Regions from separate parts of the Homo sapiens genome. Here region 2 is linked to region 1. The links are contacts of gene promoters, found by promoter capture Hi-C in human tissues and cell types (Jung and others, 2019). All regions are on one chromosome and are shown on one strand. The core of a region is centred on a gene start or on the middle of the fragment in contact, and the rest is flanking DNA. Distances in the headings are between cores, read along the strand shown.

What was found. The method cuts DNA at HindIII sites, captures the fragments that hold promoters and counts their contacts. A contact is called where the count stands out against the background at its distance.
Region 2: a contact is called between a fragment that was not itself captured here and the fragment with the promoter of UBASH3B in region 1, in 1 of the 25 tissues and cell types used here (hippocampus).

What each region holds. Positions count from the first base shown.
Region 1 is chr11:122,653,380-122,657,526 of GRCh38, forward strand. It overlaps UBASH3B (ubiquitin associated and SH3 domain containing B), which reads left to right and starts at 2,343. Exons shown (of 14, transcript NM_032873.5): 1 at 2,343-2,831. The coding sequence starts at 2,671. RefSeq lists an enhancer at 2,248-2,749 and a silencer at 2,953-3,002. The HindIII fragment of the contact is 12,544 bases long and covers 1-4,147 here.
Region 2 is chr11:121,677,151-121,681,297 of GRCh38, forward strand. No RefSeq gene overlaps it. Among named protein-coding and RNA genes, the nearest start is that of SORL1-AS1, 230 kb to the left of the region's middle. The HindIII fragment of the contact is 7,595 bases long and covers 1-4,147 here.

The sequences.
Region 1 (4,147 bases), core at 1,093-3,592:
TCCCAGACAAAAACAGTTTGCATCTCAGGTGCCTAGTTTTTCATAGTGCTTTTTCCAGTCTACCTAAAACTATTTTTATATGCATCATTTCCTTTATCTTACAGTTTGCCTAAAGGCAGGGAGAAAGACAATTAATTCAATTTTTCTGGAGAAACAGAGATCCAGCAATTCTATGTCAAGGGGCATAGATGGAGTCAAAAAACTATCTTAAAGGCTGGTGTCCTTTTATCATCATAACAATGGTCGTTAACTAGTTGTTTGGCCAAATGTTAAGAGTTCAAATCTTGGCTCTGCCATTTACTAGCCATGTGACCTTGGACAAGATACTTGACCTCTGGCTCAGCACCTTCATTTGTAAAGTAGTTCCTAGTTCATAGTCTTGTCAAGGAATTGTTTGAGTCACATATGTAAGAAGCAAAGAACAACACCAGCATATAGTAAGTACTCAATAAATTTGAGTTATCATTTATGTAGCGCTTTATGGTTTACAAAGCGCTTTCACATACATTATTATCTCTTGACTAAGATCCAGATCATTTGACTTTCAGCCCAGGCATTTGGAAACAATTCAGAATACTGGATAAAATCCAGCATGTTTTACCGAACACATCCAAGGAGGCTAATACTAGGTATGGTGTTGCCAGCCCAGTCTTGTCTTTTTGCTCCATGTCCTGGAAGAGCATTCTGCAAGGTCTCCAGGATATCCCCTTTGCTCTGGAAGCAGCTACTACCCAGGAAGCATTAATTTTCCCTCATCCTTTGTACAGCAGGAGGCAGAATTAATACACATTGTTGCTTAAGCTCCAGCTGTCTTATCTCCCTGCTTCCAAACACCACTGGCTATTCTTTAGGAAACCAATTCCGGGCTCAGGGAGTTACACTGTATCATTTCCCCTGGTAAAACCTTCACAGGCCTTATAAAGCAACCTCAAAAAGCCACTCCATGGGTGCTGGTCACCATCCCTCCCCCATATTCCAACCAGGGACAGGCCCGGACTGACATTTCTGGAAAACCCAGTGTGTGCAAGGTTAGGTTACCACGGTCCATACCAATGAGGAAATTAGGCTGTAGAGAGAAGTAACTTGTCTAAGGCACCGCAGTGGATACGAGTGCTGTAGCTACGCACTTACCAGCTCTATGATCTTCCCCAACCTCTCTGAGCTGAGTTTTCTCATCTGTAAAACTGGGATAATGATTAAACACACTCCTAGGGTCAGTATAAAACTTCAGTGAGTTCATTCATTACGATTAGCACAATGACTGGCACATACAAGAGCCCAATAAATGTTAGGTTTTATTATTATTATTACCCAAAAAAGACTATCAGTTAGGGTGTACTCATTGCCTCTTTCATTATAGCAAGTGGGACCCTTGTCCCTGACTGAAGACAATGACTTTGTTTCCAAACGAAAGAGGGTTAGCATCCCCCAGCCAAATTCACCAGGTGGGGCATGGGGCATCAATATGGTTGTGGCTTCCACCATCTTTGCAGTGGGAGTAGTTTTGTCCAGCCTATGATACAATTCACTTATTATTGTGCAGTGGTGATTCGGTCCGTCTTTGAATCCTTTTATTGACAGGATATCCACTCCCTAATGAAATAAGCCCGTTCCCTTTTGAACACCTCTTATAATTAGGAAGTATGTTTTCTCTGTTCCTTCTTCCTCTACCCTCCTAGCCCTTCCTTCTTCTCCTCCTCCTTCCTCCTTTCTTTTTCCCTTCCCTCTTCTTTCTGCCCTGTCCCTCTTTTCTTGTCCCCTCCCAGGTCCTGCCACCTCTGAGAACCTGAGGTCCTTCTCCCCAACCCCTCTGCCCCACCGGGAAGGCACTATTCAGTCACTGACCATAACCTTGTAGAGCGCAGTAGGTCTTTAGTGCAGCCACTTGGCCGGCTGATTGGGAACTCAACTTCCGATGGTCCTAACAACCCTTTGGGTTTTGCAGGATCTTTGAGAAGCAAAACCTTTTACCTAGGCCTTACGGCTTGGCCTTCTGGTCCATTAGTATCATCCACCAGTTCACCCAATTTCCATTAATAACCGCATCTAGAATCACATGAAACTTGAGATGGGTTGATCTCCTGTCTTGAGGCCCAGCTGGGCGGGTATGCCAGCCAAGGAGAGGGCTGGGGCGCCGGGGGTGACTCTCGGGAGGTGAAGCACACAAGCAGCCCATAAGGTTGGGATCCTCCGTCTCCAAGTAGCGCGACTACAGCTCTTGCCCGCACGGAGCAGCCTCGGACAGCGCGGCCGCTTTAAGAGAGGGGCGGGGCCCGGGTACAGGCAAGTCAGGGCCAGCCCACAAGGCTCCTTTTCCTTTTTGATCCATTCAAAAATTACTCATTGCAAATTCCCGGACTGCTAGGCGAGGAGAGGGAAGGGGGCGGAGGAGACAGGGCTACTGCAGGCGCAGAGCTGGGGGCAGCCGGGGGCCCGAGTGGCTGAGGCTGGTCCCGCAGCGGCCGCTTGCCGGCGTTCTGGCTCCTGTGGCCTCACCAGGAAGCGTCAGAGTCCCGACACTGGGGAAGCTCGGAGCGCCGCCTCCGCTGCCGCCGCCTCCTGCCTGGCTCTGGGTCCCCGAGCCCCCTCCCCTGGCCCAGCCCGACTCCCTCCTCCTTCCCGAACCATCCGGCTCGGGCTCCTTCCCTGGCGATGGCTGGCCGCTGAGCCATGGCTCAGTACGGCCACCCCAGTCCGCTCGGCATGGCTGCGAGAGAGGAGCTGTACAGCAAAGTCACCCCCCGGAGGAACCGCCAACAGCGCCCCGGCACCATCAAGCATGGATCGGCGCTGGACGTGCTCCTCTCCATGGGGTTCCCCAGAGCCCGCGCGTAAGTGGCCGGGCTCGCAGCCCTCGGCGACCCCTCCCGCGCGCGCGGCCGGCCCTCGGCTTCGCTCCGGCTCGCCTCCCAGCGCCTGCGGGACAGGCAGCGCGCTCCCCGCTGCCCGAGACCTGTTGGGGGCGGGATGGGCGCGCTGGCAACCCGGGACTCGGCTCCGGGCGGGGGTGCGGGGGAAGACGCGGCGCGGGGGCGTTGGGCCAGGGCTCGCCGTGGGATGCCTAAAGCTGGGGGACGAGGGCGCGGGGTTCGAGTCCCGGGTATAGTGCTCAGCCTCCGCCCCAGCCGGGTGGAGCTCAGCGTTTCTCTCGCGCGCTCCCCTAGGTCTCCAGCGCCGAGCGCCTAGGGAGGCGGGGCCCTGCGGAGGACTCGGGCACCCTCTCCGTCTGGAATACTGGGCTGGTCTGGGATCCTCCGGTGTCTGGGAAAGGGCGGGAGACTGCGGGGCAGGGAGGCCGGCGCCCCCGTTGCAGCGGCTTCCAGCTCCGGATGTCGCTCTCGGGTTCGGTCTCCCCCTGGAGTAGGAGGAGCGGGAGCGTGGGTGTTCCTGCGTGTTCATTGATGGGGAGGATGGAATCAGAAGGAGAAGCGATCCCTCCAGGGGACCTGGGTTCTCGTCAGTGGTGACGGCAGCTCAGAAATCTGTGGGTGCCTGAGAGTAAGGAGGGGGAGCTGTTCTTCATCCTTCCTCTAGGAGAGTGGGGTAGGGGAGGGCAGGGAGAGCGCAGGTGGCTGCCCCTGGAGCCTGCTGGGGAGAGGCCTGTTTGCCAGCATAGGGTGGCGGCGGCCGGAGTCGTCTCAGGCCGGTCGGCTCAAGTCTCAGGGGCTGGAACTCTGCCTAAGAGGAAGCCAAGGCCCAGCGGCCAGGCCCTTCTCCCCTGGTTAATCCCTGCCGTGCAGATTTCTTAGGTGGGGACACAAGGCCTGGCGTCCGGACTGGGCGCAGCTTCTTTTCATCTTTGAATTACAGCACCTGAACAGGAGAGTTGGCCAAACTTAATCAGTGAGGGCCAAGTAAATGAAAGTCCTTTTTATTTTTTTCCCTTCTCACATTTTTTTTTCAGGTGATAACTTTATTTATGTATTTATTTTTCTGAGACGGAGTCTCGCTGTGTCGCCAGGCTAGAGTGCAGTGGCGCAATCTCTGTAACTTCCGCCTCCCAGGTTCAAGCGATTCTCCCACCTTAGCCTCCTGAGTAGCTGGGACCATAGACATGCGCCACCACACCGGGCTAATTTTTATATTTTTAGAAGAGATGGGGTTCTGCCATGTTGGCCAGGCTGGTCTCGAACTCCTGACCTCAGGT
Region 2 (4,147 bases), core at 1,158-3,657, 980 kb before region 1:
GTTTGAGACCAGCCTGGCCAACAGGGTGAAACCCCATCTCTACTAAAAATACAAAAATTAGCCAGGCGTGGTGGTGCACACCTGTAATCTCAGCTGCTCGGGAGGCTGAGGCAGGAGAATCACTTGAGCCCTTGAGCCCAGGAGGAGGAAGTTGCAGTGAGCCGAGATTGTGCCATTGCACTTCAGCCTGGACAATAGAGTGAAGCTCCATCTCAAAATAAATAAATAAATAAATAAATAAATAATTATACGGATCCTATAGATCAATTTGGGAGAGTGATAACATTTAGTCTTTCAATCCATGAACATGGCATATCTTGGCTTTCTTCTCCAATTTCTCTCAACAATGTTTTTGCTTTGCCATTGTCAGTGTGCAGGTCTTGAAAAGATTTTTATACTTATCCCTTATTATATCATGTTTTTGAATGCTATGGCAAATTATATTGCTTTTAAATATTATTTTTTATTTTGTGTATAGAAATATAACTGACTCTTTCCTAACATCCTCTGACCTAGCATCCTCTATTGTGTGTTGACCTAGCATCCTCTGATATTCCAAATTTACTTAGTTTCAACGACTTCTTAGGTTCCTTAGAATTTTCTCCGTACGTGATATTGCCTCTAAATAATAGCAGTTTCACGCCTTTCTTTCCAACAACTATCTTTTTATATCTTTTTCTTTTCTCATTTCGCTGGCTGGAACCTCCAGTACAAAGTTGACTAAAAGTAGTGAGAGCTTATATTTTTGCCTTGTTACAAACCTTAGGGGGAAAGAGTTTAGTGTTCAGCATTAAGTATGATGTTAACTGTAGGTTTTCATAGACATCCTTTACCAGGTTGAAGAAAGTTTGCTTCTAGTCTCAGTTTACTGAGAGTTTTTATCATGAATGAATGTTGAATTTTGTCAAGTGCTTTTTCTGCATCTATAGAGATGATCATGTAATTTTCTCCTTTATTTTGTGGCAAAATTTTATGGCAAATTTCAGTGGCTGATTTTCAAATGTTAAATCAGTATTACATTCTTGGTATAAATCCTGTTTGGTTATGATGCATTATGATTTTTATACATTGCTGAATTTAATTAGCGAATATTTTGCTAACACTTTTGTGTTTATATTTATGAAGGATATTAGTTTGAATTTTTTTCTTGTAATTTTATTATTTGGTTTGGGTATCACATTATTACTGTCCTATAAAATGAGTTGGCAAATGTTTCCCCTTTTTTGTTTTCTAAAAAATATTCTGTGAAAAAAGTATTATTTTTTCCTTGTAAGTTTCAACTAACTGACTACGGAAACCATCTGAGGTGGGAGTTTGCTTTTTGGGAAAGTTTTACATTTTTGAAAAGAATGTCTTTAATTAAATTCACTTAAATATATTTTATATTCATACACTTACCATTTTGATGCTCTTCATTTCTTTGTGTAGATCGCAGTTTCCATTTGATGTCATTTTCCTTCAGCCTAAACTTCTTTAATATTTTTGTATGCAGATAGGCTGATGACAGATTCTTTTAGCTTTTGTTTTAAAAAAATGTCTTTATTTTGCCTCCATTTTTGAGACAGATTTTCAATGGATATAGAATTCTGGATTGACCATTTTCTTTCAGCACTTTAAAAGTGTCATTCAATTTCCTTCAGGCTTACTTTTTTTTTTTGGAAAGTCTGCAGTCAGTATTATTTTGCTTCTTTGTATATATTTTTTCTCTAAGTGCTTTTGCAATTTTCTCTTTATCTTTGATTTATACAGTTTCACTCTGGTGTGTCCAATTATTTTTATTCTACATGCTCTTTGTCGAGTGTCTTGGATCTCTGGATTTATAATTTTCATCAAATTTGGTAAATTTGTAACCATTATTTATTTAAATAATATTTTATGTTTGTCCTTCTAGGACTCAAATTACACACATGCTAGACTGCTTCCTCTTGTCTTGAAAGTCACTGATGTTATGTTCATTTTTTTTCTAATTCTTTTTTTCTTTCCTCTGCTTCAATTTGGATAATTTCTATTGCCTTGCCTAAAAGAACTTCAGGCAAGTTCTTAAAACAGAACTGGTCTTTTTTACTGCAATGTCTAGTCTGCTTTAGGTAAGTCTATTTAGTAAATTTTTTATTTCAGATATAATATTTTTCAGCTCTGGAAGTTCCATTTTGATTTTTTTTCATATTTTTAATTTATACTTTTATATTCTCTCTTAAATCATTAAACTTGTTTATATTAGCCATTTAAAAGTTGTTGTCTGCTACTTTCATAATTTCTATCTGTTCTGTCACTGTTCTTATTGCCTGTTTTTTTTTTTTTTTAAACTGACTATGGGTTCCATATCTAACCATTTCTGGTGTAGGGTGTCCATTGGGTGTTGTACATTGTGAAAGCTACATTGTTGAGTGTCTTGGATTTTGTTGTTTTCCTTTAAAGACCGGTGAATTTTGTTTTGGCAGACTATTAAGTTACTTGTGGATCACACTGACTGTGTTGAGATTTGTGTAAAAATTTTTAAAACTTGGGTCTAGAATAGTCTTTACCCTCACGGTAGTTTTATCTTATTACTGCTAAGGTGTGGTTCTTCTGTAGTCTCTGCTAAATGCCCTGAGGTTCTATGAACTCTCTTCATGCTGGCTGGCTGGAGCTTAACTATCTTCCAGCCCATGTGAGCTCTGGAAATTGTTTAGTTTACCACTCCCCAATATTTGTTGTTTTCCTGGCCTCATAGAGCTTCTGTCTGAAAATATGCAGCTTAATACTTAATAAAAGACTCAATGCAAATTTCTGGAGCTCTTTTCCTGTGTAGAATTCCTGCTCTGTTGTATTCTATTTCATAAATTCCAGCTGCCCCTGCCTGCTCAAACTCTGATTTCTGCCTCCTCAATTCAGCAAGAATGCTGTGCTTTGCTTGGGCTCCTTTCCTGTCTGCTGTGGCCTTGAAAATGCTTCCAGACAGAATGCCCATCCTCTTCTATAGCTCATCTAGTTTGCATCTCTTTTCTCAGAGATCGCAGTCCAGCATTGCCTATTTTCTAATGTTTGAAAATAATTGTTTTTTTTTGTCCAGTTTTTAAGTTATTTACTATAGGAGGGCAAACCTGGTACCAGTTACTCCATCATGGCCATTGATACAGGTTTAATCAGCTTACATAACAGAATTTTCATTTTGTCTGTATTTCTTTAAAGAAATCACCAGAAGAGTACAAAACCAACAAAAAATATATATGACCTCTGTATGATCACATTAATTCACTTGTCTGATAAGCCTTTTCAAACAGAAATAAGATTAGTGGATTTGACTTATTCATAATGAACCCATGCTGGCCTATAGGGATCACATCTCTTTCTCTTCGTAAGTCAGACATTTAATGACGTTTTAAGGATTTTTCCAGAGAATGTAATGTTTACCATTAAGCAGGTTTTGGAATATGCTTTTTAGAAATATGAAAATATTTATCTGTTTTTGGTCTTTGGCATAATATTTATAAATAACATTTATTTGCTTATGAAGTGCTTACTGTGTGCCTGGAAGCAGGCTACATGTTTTATATACCTTATCTTTTTGAGTCATCATAATACTGTGAGTTTTGAATCATTACAATAATATGAGTTCTTCTATTATCCTCACTTAATAGTTGAAGAAATTGAGAATTCGAGATATAAAATAACATGCTTCAGGCCACATAACCAGAAAGAGATGGAGCTGAAATTTGAATCAAAGAAGTTTGATTAGAAAATACCAGTTGAACCACTGGGCTATCCTTAACATCACCTGTCTTGAGCTTCGTGATTTCTCAGAATTTTCTTTTAACCAAAAAACTGAACTCTTTTTTTGTTTCTAAATATCATTTGAAGTACCCAAGGAATGCCGAATATGAACAAATATGGGGTCCTTCAGCGTCCTTTTTTTTTTTTTTTTTTTTTTTTTGAGACGGAGTCTCACTCTGTTGCCCGGTGTGGAGTGCAGTGACGCAATCCCGGCTCACTGCAACCTCCACCTCCCAGGTTCAAGCAATTCTCCAGCCTCAGCCTCCGAGTAGCTGGGATTACAAATGTGCACCACCACGTCTGGCTAGTTTTTTGTAGTTTTAGTAGAGATGGGGTTTCACCATGTTGGCCAGGCTGATCTGTTCAGTGTACATTGAGTATGTTTTACTGATTC